2 separate regions of the Homo sapiens genome follow, and region 1 is linked to region 2. The links are contacts of gene promoters, found by promoter capture Hi-C in human tissues and cell types (Jung and others, 2019). All regions are on one chromosome and are shown on one strand. Each heading gives the region's core, a stretch centred on a gene start or on the middle of the fragment in contact. The rest is flanking DNA. Distances are from core to core; before and after follow the strand shown. Region 1 has its middle 7.7 kb from the start of LINC02272. Region 2 holds the start of GLRB (glycine receptor beta).

What was found. Contacts are between HindIII fragments. The study calls those that stand out against the background at their distance.
Region 1: a contact is called between a fragment that was not itself captured here and the fragment with the promoter of GLRB in region 2, in 2 of the 25 tissues and cell types used here (dorsolateral prefrontal cortex and mesenchymal stem cells).

Annotation. Positions count from the first base shown.
Region 1 is chr4:156,646,767-156,653,688 of GRCh38, reverse strand. No RefSeq gene overlaps it. Among named protein-coding and RNA genes, the nearest start is that of LINC02272, 7.7 kb to the right of the region's middle. The HindIII fragment of the contact is 5,478 bases long and covers 1-4,543 here.
Region 2 is chr4:157,070,426-157,077,505 of GRCh38, reverse strand. GLRB (glycine receptor beta) reads right to left here and starts at 1,356. Exons shown (of 10, transcript NM_000824.5): 1 at 1,209-1,356. RefSeq lists a silencer at 3,955-4,249. The HindIII fragment of the contact is 3,601 bases long and covers 1-2,248 here.

The DNA.
Region 1 (6,922 bases), core at 555-3,054, 420 kb after region 2:
AAAATGGTTTTCTATTAATTTTTGTAAGCAACATACGTTAGCGTAATCTCTTTTGAGCTCTTGCGTATTTGTAAATATCTTCTTTTTCTTGTGGGCTGTACACATAACAACCACTTGGTAGGATATCCAAGTTGTGGGGTTTTTTTGTTTGTTTTACCATTTGAAAGAAGTGTTACCTGATTTTTATTAAATTTAAAAATGTTTGGGTGACTTTAGTATATTTTCTTTATCATTCTAACTTCATTTTTTCTTTTGGGTATGCTAAGATATAAGTCTCTATAATTTTTATGCTCAAAGATTATTGAGCGTTTTTGATCTATAGGTTGGTCATTTATTTAGGGTAGGAACTTTTTCTTTCATAAATCTTTCATTATTCCTTCTGTTTTAGACATTGTGGTTTCTTTCACAGTAACCTCTACTATTGTCTGGTTGTATTCTTATTGCATGTCTTTCAAAATTATATATTCTTATGTAATGTTTTCCTTTCTTTACACCAATTTTCCTCTGCGTTATTAGGAAATTTATCTAGCTGGTTCTCTAAATTAGGATTTTATTTTTATTCTTTGTCAATTTTAATTTTTATCACCTCTAATATATATTTTATTATTGCTACTATGATTTTTCTTCACTAACTCATCTTATTTTAAAAATTATTTTCTTCAGCCTAAAAAAGGTGGTATAATCAATATACCAAAAATTGTACCTCATTAAGGTATACAATGGACATACCTGTAACACAAGTAACTATCACCACAAAGTAATACACATATCTATCACCTTCAAAAGTTTCCTTGCATTCTCTTTTTTGCAGTAAAAACACTTAACATGAGATCTACAGTCTTAACAAAATTTTAAGTGAGCTATACCTTACTGTTAACTGTGGGCGCTATGTTGTAACAGCAGATCTTTGAGACTCATTCATCTTGTAGAATGGTAACTTTATTCCTCTTGAACAACCATTCCTCATCGCCACCTCTCTCATGCCCTGGTAATCACCATTCTGTTGTCTACTTCTATATAGCAATATTTTCAATGTCACATATAAGAGGAAACAAGCAGTATGTGTTCTTCTGTGGCTGACATTGCACTTAGCATTGTGTCTTCCAGGTTCATTCGTGTTGTCACCAATGGTAGGATTTTCTTCTCTTTTTTAGGGCTGAATAATATTCCATTGAATGTACTTACCACTTTTAAAAAAACTACTCATATGTCTTTGGACATTTGGGTTGTTTGACATCTTGGCTATTATGAATACCTGCTGCCATGGACATGAGAGTGCTGCTATGTCTTCAGGTTCCTAAGTTCAATTATTTCAGATATATACCAAGAAGTGGAATTGTTGGATCATATGGTAATTCTATGTTTAAATTTTTAAGGAACCTCCATACTCTTTTCTATGGTGGCTGCATCATTTCAGATTCTCACTAACAGTGTACAAGAATTTCCTTTTCTCCACATCATCATCAACACTTGTTATTTGTGTCTGTATTTATGTGGGTATGTGTGTTTTGATGGTGTCCATCCTAATAGGTGAAAGGTAATATCTCATTGTGGTTTCAATTTGCATTTCCCTGGTGATTAGTAATGTTAAACATTTTATTTTTGTTTTAAATTGTTTAAAATTTTACTTTAAGTTCCGGAATATGTGTGCAGAATGTGCAGATTTGTTACATAGGAATACGTGTGTCATGGTGGTTTGCTGCACCTATTAACCCTTCCTCTAGGCTCTCTCCCCTTGTCCCCCACCCCACAACAGGTGATGGTGTGTGTTGTTCCCCTACCTGTGTCCATGTGTTCTCATTGTTCAACTCCCATTTATGAGCGAGAACTTGTGGTGTTTGGTTTTCTCTTCCTAGGTTACTTTGCTGAAGATAAGAGCTTTCAGCTTCATCCATGTCGCTACAAAGGACATAATCTCATTCCTTTTTATGGCTGCATAGTATTCCGTGGTGTATATGTGCCACATTTTCTTTATCCAGTCTATCATTTATAGGCATTTGGGTTGGTTCCATGTCTTTGCTATTGTAAATAGTGCTGCAATAAACATACGAGTGCATATGTCTTTATAGTAGAATGATTTATATTCCTTTGGGCATATACCCAATAATGGGATTTCTGGGTCAAACGGTATTTCTGGTTCTAGGTCCCTGAGGAATCGCCACACTGTCTTCCACAATGGTTGAAGTAATTTACATTCCCACCAACAGTGTAACAGGGTTCCTATTTCTTCACAGCCTCGCAAGCATCTATTATTTCTTGACTTTTTAATAATCACCACTCTGAATGGCGTGATGTGCAGTTTCTACATAGTGTCATTGGTCTTTATATTGTGGTGTGTTTTTACAGTGGCTGGTACTGGTTTTTTTTTTCCATATTTAGTGCTTCCTTCAAGAGCTCTTTTAAGGCAGGCCAGGTGGAGATAAAATCCCTCAGCCTTTGCTTGTCTGGGAAGGATTTTATTTTTCCTTCCCTTATGAAGCTTAGTTTTGCTGGATATGAAAAATTCTTTTCTATAAGAATGTTAAATATTGGCACCCACTCTCGTCTGACTTGTAGGGTTTCTGCTGAGAGGTCCGTTATTATTCTGATGGGCTTCCCTTTGTAGGTGACCTGGCCTTTCTCTCTGGCTGCCCTTAACATATTTTCCTTCATTTCAACCTTGGAGAATCTGATGATTATGTATCTTGGGGTTGATCTTCTCATGGAAAATCTTAGTGATGTTCTCTGTATTTCCTGAATTTTAATGTTGGCCTGCCTTGCTAGGTTGGGGAACTTGTGGATAATATCCTGAAGTGTGTTTTCCAGCTTTTCTCCATTCTCCTCTTCTCCTTCGGGTACTCTCATCAATCGTAGGTTTGATCTTTTTATGCAGTCCCATATTTCTCAGAGGCTTTGTTTGTTGCTTTTCATTATTTTTTTCTCTAATCTTGTCTGCATGCCTTATTTCAGCTAGGTGGTCTTTAAACTCTGATATCCTTTCTTCCTCTTGGTTGATTCCACTATTGCTACTTGTGTATGCTTCACAAAGTTCTCATGCTGTGTTTTCCAGCTCCTTCAGGTCATTTATGTTTCTCTCTAAACTGGCTATTCTAGTTATGCGCTCCTCTAACATTTTATCAAGGTTCTTAGCTTATTTGCATTGGATCAGAACATGCTCCTTTAGCTCAGACAGTTTGTTATTAACCATCTTTGGAAGCTTACTTCTGTCAATTCGTCCATTTCATCCTCATCCAGATCTGCACCCTTGCTGGAGGGGCATTGCATTCGTTTTGAGAAGAGGCACTCTGGCCCTTGGGGTTTTCAGCATTTTTTTGTTGATTCTTTCTCATCTTTATGAGTTGTCTAGTTTAGATCTTTGAGGCTGCTGATACTTGGATGGGGTTTTTGTGGGGACTTTGTTGTTAGTGCTGTGAACATCTCTTCATTTTCTTGACCATTTGTATGTTTTCATTGCAGAAGTATATATTTAAGTGTCTTTCCCATTTTTAATAGGGTGATTTCATTTTCTTTTGCTTTCGAGTTGTGGGAGTTCATGATATCTTTTGGATATTAATCCCTTACTAGATATATGGTTTCCAAATATTATCTCCCATTCTGGAAGTTGCATTTTCACTCTGTTGATTGTTTTCTTTGCTGTGCAGAAGGTATTTATTTTGATATAGTCTCATTTGTCTATTTTTTATTTTGTTGTCTGTGCTTTTGATGTCTATCCAAGAAGTAATTTCCAAGACCATCTCATAAAGCTACACTCCCACATGTTCTCTTCTAGGATTTTTACTATTTCAAATTTTATGTTTAAATCTTTAATACATGTTAACTTGGTTCCTGTGTGTGGTGTGAAATAAGGATTCACTTCTGTTCTTTGATGTGTATACACAGCTTTCTGAAAGCTTCTTATAGAAGAGGCTATCTTTTCCCCATTGTGTATTCTTGCCACCCTTGTGAGCAATCAGTTGATCACACATGCATAGGTTTATTTCTAGACTTTATTCTGTTCCATTAGTCCATATATCTATTTTATATCAGTACCATACTGGTTTCATTACTGTAGGTTTGTAATATGTTTTTAAATCAGAAAGTGTAATGCCTCTAGCCAATCTATCTCACTTTTAAAAACTTTGGACCTTTTAAAATATGAATCTTTTAAAGGCTTTTGCACTTGTTTTACATGAAATTCTTCTCAGTCTTTTTGAGTTTTTCTGCAAATGCCATACTTTTTGAACAATTATTCTGGCTGCTTGGTGACTTGCACAAGTATTTAGCCTACAGAATGAGCTTTCCTTTTCCCTGTTCTGCAATGTTTTCTAAGACCCTTTAGTTTTCTTTCTTTTTTTTTTAATTCTTATTTGAAATAGTAGAGATGTCTGCAGGTCTGGTGTTTCTTATAAACACGCCATGTTGACTGCCCCATCCTTAATTCACTGATATCATATAGATTTTTCTAGCACAACTAAATCAACTAAGTCATTGTACTATCTGATATTAGTATGCACAACTCCTAGCCCAATTCTGAATAAAATCTTATCTTTAGAATAAATATTAGATTGCAAAGCAATGGGATATATAAAAATTACATCCACTTCTTAAAAATTTATTGAGAATTTTCATACCATCTACAAATCTTAGCTTGGAGGGTTACATTTTCTAAAATGTCATAAAATCACTCCAATCTTTTTTTTAAACACATTGTATTCTCTTCCTGTTTACTTTCTTTCTTTAGGCTTTATTTTCCAAAAGAATGAAAGAAGTATGAGTGTGTGTGTGTTGAGGTGTTGGGGTGGAAGGTAGGATTAGATTTAGATTAAGAAAGAGGGTGCTTTGGATCAATTGAATGCACCATCTGTTAAGTAGTGGGGTAACTGGTTTTCTTGTTGGTATGTATCTTGCGCAGCTGACCCAGTGGACAGAGATGAAAAGGAAGTTACCAGGTCTTTCCATTTTTCTTTCAGTGGGCAGGTTCTCCACACTTAGACCATCAATTGTACTTTTTGATTTAATCCAATCTGCTTTGTTGTATATAGAATCTCTTCTGAATTGACTTTCCTAGTTTTCAGTTTGGGTTTTATCATTTTTCTGGCTTTCTTAGGCAGTGTGTAGGAAAGTTGTGTGAAATGGCCTTAGGGATAGCTATCCTGATATTTTCTAATTTGATGTTTTGTTTTATTATTTTAATTTGGAAAAGACACTTTTAACAAGCTTGACAACTTTGTTAATCATCCAAACTAGTAACAGGAAGGCCAATGAAAGGAGGTGTAGGGAGTTTGGCCGGGAGCAGACAGAGTGACAGTAATGAAAATTTTGATGTTACAGCAAGATAAATAATTATAAGTAGCAGTAGAAAATGTAAAAGCACATTGAAAATTATATCCAGAGATCTAAATAGGTTTTATAATCAATCTATCATTAACAATATTTTAAACTCTATTAAAAATTATTTCAAATGTGATAATGTGACTAACAGTTTGGTTATAGAAAGATAAACATTTGAAAATTCCTTTTTTAAGAAAATTAATTTTTAAAAAATGTTGTAGATACACAGTAGGTGTATCTATTTAAGGGGTACCTGAGATGTTTTGATACAGGCATGCAATGTGAAATAAGCACATCATGAAGAATGGGGTATCCATCCCCTTAAACATTTATCTTTTGAGTTACAAACAATCCAATTACATTCTTTAAGTTATTTCAAAATTTAATACTTCATGGGGCTTCATTTTATCATCTAAAATATTCACAAAAGAATATCCAATTCCTGTATATTTTTTACTGTATTAGATATTATCATGTATATGTGTATATACATGCACTATCCATGCACACACACACACACACACACACACATATATTTACATATATATATATACACATATTTGCCTTTGACTATTTCTTGTTGCACTTTAATTTAGAAGTGAATATGACTGGTATTAAGATCCATGAGTATAGGTAAAAACATGACACCCCACAACAAAATGGGGAAACATATGATAGGGTTTGTATTTGATATTTTCCTCTACCATCTGGAAAGTATGCTGAAATTTTTCTTTTTGGGATTTCCAGACAGTCTGACTAGTCTGACATCTTTGTTCAAAAAAGATAAAAAGTTCCCTTAAAGCTATGTGGAGCTGTCTCGGCAGTTGCTGTAGTTTCCATCCACCTACTTTTTTGCTTCGTTGTTTAAGGCTATGTCCCAGTGACTCTGAAAGTTATAACCTGCCTTATTTCAACTTGCTTAACAAAAGCTTTCAGGGCATCTTGCTTTCATCTACACCATGCACATGGTCACATTTTTTAATGGAAATTCCAGGGCTGAACACTGCCATGGCATTCTTTTACCTCAGTACTTGGACGGCAATGCAGAGAATGGAATACCAAGGTTACAACATAATTGTGGAAAGCTTCATACAGAGTTTTGAACCGATGTCTATGAACCAATGTGATATCAACATCCAGATCAAAGTCTGTCTTAAGTCTCACATGGTCTGAAGAGATTTTCCACCAAGTACAATGAAAATCCATAATGGGAAGAATATATTTTTGTATTTGCAAGTTGTGTGTGTGTGTGAGAGAGAGACTTCATATATATGCATCTGTGTGTATGTTTGAAGTGAGAGAGGAAGGGAAAGGGAGACAGAGATAGAGAGAGATGTGTGCCTGGATGGACTGAGAAGTGTCACCACAGCTTTGAAATAATAATTGGACAATTTAACAGTACACAGAATTTGCAAAGCACTGAGAAGTTTTGGCATTTGATATTAATTGAAGTTACAAATATGATCATCTGTTCTGTTGAAATGTTTTAGCTATGTTGTCTCATAGTAAATTCTTAATACTGCATTCCAATGCTATGTAATGGTGGAACATCATTCTCAGCATCATTTGATGATGCTCCAGCTTTAAACTATTAATACTTTAGCCCGCAGCA
Region 2 (7,080 bases), core at 107-2,606:
AAAGAAATTCTAAGTATTAAAAAAGACAGATAAAAGAAAAAGTTAATATCAAAGAGTTCCACATTCAAAATTCATTGCTTTTTTTATTTAAACACATTACATTGGCAAGCTACCTTTTTGCCCCAAAAAGGTGCCTCTTAAGTTAGCTTTAAAGCTTTCTTACTTATTTGCTACTAACATTTGTCATCAAAAAGATTACTTCAGAAATTCTACAACAAGAAATAAAACAAGTGTTGTTACATTTTTTTCAAATTATCGTCCTAGCCATATTTTAATAACATTTTCATGCTCAAATCAGAACCATATTCTTGCCAGAGATTCTGATAAATAAAAAATAATTAAGCCTCTACCTACACTAGAGAAGTTCAAACTCTTCTGCAACCTTCATTTCCAAACCATAAATTGTTTCTCTTTCATTGTTTTCCGCAGAGTAAAAGACCTGTCATATTCTTCAACGCTAACTTAATTCCCATCTCACCCTCAGAAATTTGCTTCTCCTTATGTCATGTTTTTCATCTTCCCCCCCCCCCCCCAGGATTCTTCCCCCCATATTTATCTTTTACACACACTCCAGGCAAGCCAGAGGGGCTTCTCCCTGGGTACTTTAAATTGAAGACAACAGAGGGGGCTCATCAGACCAACAGCAACAACACAAGGTTCTCCTCTGGCAACTTCACAACATTGGACGCTCCCTTCCCCCATCCGACAGCGGCACCTGCTTCCAGACACCTTGCCCACAGCAGCAGGTACTTCTCCCACTTTCACATCCTTGCCCCCGCAAAAAGGAGGGCCGAGCCCCCCTAACGCTTCGAAAAACAGAGAAATTCACCACTCTGCTCTGTCCTCACCCCCAATCTTTCAAGGGGGACAGCTGCATTGACTGGAGGATCCTCATAAACAAAACAACGCAAGGAGCCCTCCTGGCCAACCTTGCGTTTCCTAATTACCCCGGCCCTCTGCATCTCTCCACCCGGAGCGTCTCCGCGGGCGCCACCGCAGCGGGGACCCGGCTGCCGCTGCCAGGCGCCCCGCGCCCCTCTCCCGCGCAGGGCAGCGCGCGTCCTCCCGGGCACGCCGCAGTGCTCCTCGCGCTCCGCCGCCCCGGGCTTGACCCGCTGTTTCCGCAAAGGCGTCTATTCCCGTCCTCAGACCACCGTCGCCGCCCCAACCCGCGTCCCCTCCTCCTAAGTGGAGCTCCTGGCACTTACCCGGAGGCGCCCCTGCCCACAATCGCCGGGCGAGATCGTGGAGGCTCCGGGCCCAGGTGGCAGTGGCTGCTAAGGGTGCAGCGGGCGCCGAGCGGGGGCAGCTGCGTCCCAGCCGCCCGCGCCACCGCCGAGCTCGGCTGACGCGCCTGCTCGGGCCGCGGAGCCTGCGCCGTGGCGCGCCGCGGTCGGGGCCGCAGCGGGGACAGCGCGGGCCGCGGGGGAACCTGGCGACCGCGGGCGGGGGAGGGAAGAGGTGTCCCGACAGAGCAACGTCACGGCATCGTCCCCTTCAGGCATTGGAGGGGTTACCGAGCAGAAATGTGTACCCCCCTCACTCCTTAGGGGACTAAAGGAGTTGGGGACGAAGGGCGGGAATGATAGTGTCGGTACAAAAAGAAAAAACCTTTCAAGGAGCTGGGATTGCTTGGGGTCAGCTTTTGACCACTAGCAACAAACAACAGAGCAACAAATGACCTTCTTGGGTCAAAGCGAACAAAACACATTTTCTGTCATTTCACCATTTGCCTGGAACCCAGACATCCAGCTTAATCTCCGGGTCTTCCAATTTCTAAAAGCCTGAACTTTCTGAGCAAGCTTAAATTGGTCAAAATTACTGACAATATAGTCATACAGGTAATACTATGTTTAACATCTGTTACATAATTAACATGTGTACAGAACTTGACAGTTGCAAAACACCTTTCACTCGCCTTATCTCATGTGGCCCTCACCACATTCCTGGGCAAGTTTTGTCATCCCCTTCTGTAGATGAAGAATCTGAAACTCAGTTATATTAAGAGATTTACTTAGAGTTACAGATCTTGAAAGAAATTTACCAGAGATTCAAAATTAGTGATTTTTGCATATCTGAACCAGACAGGGTCTCTGCCTTATAAGAGCAAAATACTGTTGTCCTCATCCTTGTGAAGAAGTAGCCCTTACTTGGATATGCAGCCCTTAGATAACAGATAAGGCTATCCTATTACCTCTTGAATGTATGCCTGATTGATTTTTTTTAATTGTTATTTTTTAAGCAACAGGAGCTCACTTTGTTGCCCAGGCTGGAGTGCAGAGGCACAGTCATCGCTCACCGCAGTCTTGAACTTCTGGGCAATCAAGAGATCCTCTTGTCTCGGTCTCCCTAGTAGAGTAGCTGGAACAACAGACAGGCCATTGCGCTCCACTAATTATTATTATTATTTTTTAAGAGACAGCATCTCTGGCTTTGTTGTCCAGGATGGTCTCCAACTCTGGCCTGAAGCCATCCGCCTGCCTTAGCCTCCCAAGCTGGGGGGCTTACAGGCTTGAGCCACCCCACCCCACTGCACCAGGTCCTGATGGATTTTTTTTATTAAAAAAGCATTGTCTCAAGTGAGCATCACTTAGCATTGTATTGTGGACCCACAGATGTATCCACTAATAAATTTTTCCACCCGCAGCATATGGAGGGAAGGAATATTTCCTGCATATAACCGTGTTCCATAAGCTTCATGAGATATTCTGCTGCCTAAGAGTAGTGATCATTAATAAGTGATCATTACCTTATTTACATTACAAAATGATCATTATTCAAAGAGCTGTACTGTTTGAAGACCCCCCCGCCAAAGTGGATCAGGATATAACTTTGGATTTTAATGCTTTATTAGAGAGAACTATATTGATAATATACGTTTCATAAGATATAACTTTTGGTGAATAGGTCATATGAAGAATGATAAAGGAATTAGTTTTCATGCAGCCAGGGGAGTTTAGAAGTTGGCGAAAACCTTACACTTAGTTTTCAATTAATCAAGAAATTATTAAGAGTTTAGAATAATAGGAATTCCGATTCCTGTAATAAAATGAACATCTTTTATTTACAAACTCTAATGTCCACATTTGGAAGAACTATGCTGAAAATACCTACAACAGACTTGCTCACCTTCCCTAGTATTGTTTCTGTGCCATCCATGGATGTTATATTGGAGAATTAGGTTATTCAGAAGAAAAGCAAGTCCAGCAGGTTGGATGGGTTTGTAGGGTTTTGGCCCAAAGGTTAAGAAATATAGTTGATGCCCTAAAAGCACTTCTTCTAGCCTGTAAAATGGTCAAGTTCAGAATTCTGAAAATTTTTTTCTATGAAAGTGATCTGCTTACCTATATTTCTATAACTTTTATATCATAGTGTGAAAAGGGATGCTTCTAAATAATGTCATGAAATAACCTATTTTCCCCAATTCTGTCAAGTGTTGATCTACTTTTCTCTATTTATTTCTATCAATATTCACTCCTTTAGTAATTTCATCTGGTCACAAGGTTTTAAACACCATGTTGATAGCTCCCATATGTACTTCTCCTGACTAGACATCTCTCCAGAACTCCAGACTCATCTATCTAACTGCCTTTTCAACATTTCAACTTGCGTATTTAATAAACATGTCAAACTCAGTGTGTCCCAAACTGAGCTATGGTTCTCCCTAAAATCTGCCCCACATTCAGCCTTCTCCTTCTCAGTTCACGGCAACCTCATCCTTAGGGTTGGTCAGGCTAAAAATCATGAAGTTGTTCTTGATTCCGCTCTTTTTCTCACACCTCACAACCAAATCTCTGAGGAAATCCTGTTTACTCTCAAATGACAACAGGAATTCAGCTACTTCTTATGATTTTTACTGCAGCCAACCTAGACTCAGTGACTTTCATCTCTACGTTAGATTACTATAATAGCACTTTAGCTACTCACCCTGCCTCTATCATTGTCCTCTCCTACCCTTGAGTAATCTCAAAACAGTAGCCAGAGTGATCCCTTTAAAACATGTCATAGGTCATATTGTGTCATTCCTCAACTCAACACCCAGCAGTTAGTCCCCATTTTATAAACCAGTGTTTACAATGGTCTACAAACCTTCAATTGTTATGCATCTCCTCCCCCTAACTCTGACTTCTTCTCTCCTAATGGCTCGCTCTCTTTCAGCCCTGCTGATCTTGCTGCTTCTCCAACATGCCAAAGCCAGGTATGGTCCCATCTTAGGTTATTGGCTCCTCTGTCTAAAATGCTTTCCCCCCAGACCACCACATGACTGACTCCCTCATATCTTCAACATCAACCCAGATGTCACCGTCTCACAGAGATTTATCCAATGTTATTTAAAAGTGCAAACCATCTCCCATCCAAAGATTTCCAATCCCCCTTTGCCTGCTTTTCTTTTTGTTTTCATAGTACTTATTACCTCCCAACTCATCATACAATATACTTACAGTTTGTGGCCTCTGTTTCCTTGCTAAAATGTAGGCTTCATGAAGGCAGAGATTTGTATCTATTTTTGTCCATTGATGTTGCCCACACACCTAGAATAGTGTTGAATGAATGTGTAAATCTTGGCCTCATTTATTAATTTCTTCAAATTTCATGTTTCTTTATTAGTAAAATGAAAATGACAATGCATAATTTGCAGGATTGTACCAAGAAATAAACAGGTTAATTGACGTTAAAAATCTGCTGCAGAGAAGAAAAGTCACAAAGAATTAACCTCCCCTATTTTTGCTTGTTTTTATTTGCTTAATGGAATGATAGAATTTTGTTGTGGCTGTTTTTTTTTTAATTATTTTTAATTTTTGTGGGTACATGCATTTTTTGCTTACTGGGACCCTGTTATCCATTTCTTTCTTGTACGTCTACACTGAGAACATTTTGTAGGCCTACATCTAAACACTAAAAACCTTCTAACCTTCTTTTCTTTCTTTTTTCTTTTTTTTTTTCTTTTTGAAACAGGGTCTGGCTCTGTCGCCCCGGTTGGAGTACAGTGGCATGATCTTGATTCACTGCAACCTCCTCCTCTCATGCTCAAGCAAACTTCCTACCTCAGACTCCTGGGTAGCTAAGGACTCTATTTTCTATGCATCCATCTTCACCTGGCCTATAATATATTTATTTTATTTGACTTGATAATAAAACCTAAATACAGCCCTAAATATCTTCTGTTATACTAAGAAATCAAACTTTGGATACAGAGAGAGTATTCTCACCAAATCATTTTTTGTGTGTGACATAAGTACTCATCACTGTTGCCATTGCCTAAATAGCCTTACAACATGGTTTAAAGATATAAATTATTTTTTTCTGTATTCTCTCTACATGAGTCATACTTCCTCTTTAATGACAGCCTGCACTGTAATAGTCATTCATGAAATTTTTCATCAAACTTTCAGTCCATTTACCACTATAATGATCAGATATTTTCAATAAAAGTATGTCCAGCTGTTTTAGATATGGTTCTCCTCCAAATCATCATCTTTAAACATTTATCAAAATAGATAATGGGAGAATAAATATAAATAAAGAGAAAATTACAGCAGAAGATGATGAGAATAGTGGGACAGTAATTCAGCATCTTGCAAACACTGTTCATAAAACTTGAAAGACAGTAAAACTTACATTAGGAAATGTTGATTTGTAGCCAGTCTTATTAGAATAATAAAAACATTATTTGATATTTGATAAAATCACTTCCATATGTTTTCTTCAAATAGCACATTATCCTTAAAATGTTCTGCAATCTCTTATTTTTAAACTAACTTTTAAACAATAATAGCCATCTTTCATTGATTACCTATTAATTGCAAAAAAATTTTCTACATTATGGTTTTAAAACTTCAAAATTTACTTGCAAGTTATTTTCATATCCATATTTTTGATGAGAAACCAGAGGAGAGGCTCAGAAAGGGAATTTAACTTATCCGGAATATTAGACTTGGAAGAGGAAGAGATAGGATTATTTCATCTTTCATGTCCTTTACAACATTAAGACTGACTCCAATTGCACATAGGCAAGTGAAAGAAGCTTAGTTTTTAGTCGTAGATGTCTTTGTACAGAATACTGAATGCAAATTAAAAAATTGAAATCAAAGGGGTTGTTCTTACCTCCAATTCCAGATTGGCCTTAAAGATGAACTAATATGTGAGTCATTTTTTACTTAATATTTTGGCCTTAAAGATGAACTAATATGTGAGTCATTTTTTACTTAATATTTTTTCTGTTCATCATATTAATAATAGCAAAAATAGTAATGACCATCGTCATTGATTGACAGCAAAGTACTTTGAATTTATTATCTCCTCAATACCTTTATGAGGTTAATACTTTTCTTGTTGCAATTTACAGATAAAGATCCCCAGGCATCATATAATTTTTCCGAAGTCAGTTTACTAGTAAGTGATTGAGAGAGATATGTATCTAAATATGTCTGATTCTGGAAGCTGGCCCTTAAAATATTTTTGTGTGACTCTAAATTGTATATTCAATAACGTCTTATGATACACAGAATGACAATACTATTCAACCAAAATACCACACTAATTGTGATGATATGAGAAGAGAGAAGAAATGTGGATAATATATTTCTATTTACAAATTTGAGTGTCACACTGTCTTTCATTTAATTGAGGAAACAGTCCAGAACAATTAAGTAGCCCACGTTAGTATCTACCAATCTGCCAACAGTGCTTACCCCCATGGGGAAGAACCATGTGTGCCTTGATGTGTGTGGACTTAAAACAGATATCAAGAGTGTAATGCATTGTCAAAGTATTCACTGCTATGACACAGCTTTTTAGATAAATTAGACATATATCCTAAGTCCTTAGCAAAAAGTAAAAACACCTTCCTGTATGAAAATGACATGTTATTATTAGTGTATTTCAAGAATATGTCTTAAAAACAAATAAATCTATTGTTATTCAGAGTTCTATTATTAAGGCAGTGTCAATATTCATAATACAGAATCATGAATTTTGGCCAAAATTCTTTACATCCAAGTAGGTATTACCAAGCAACTGTCAACCACAGATCAGTTTGTGCCAGTTATTTATTCTTCTTATTTTGTGGTCAACATGTGA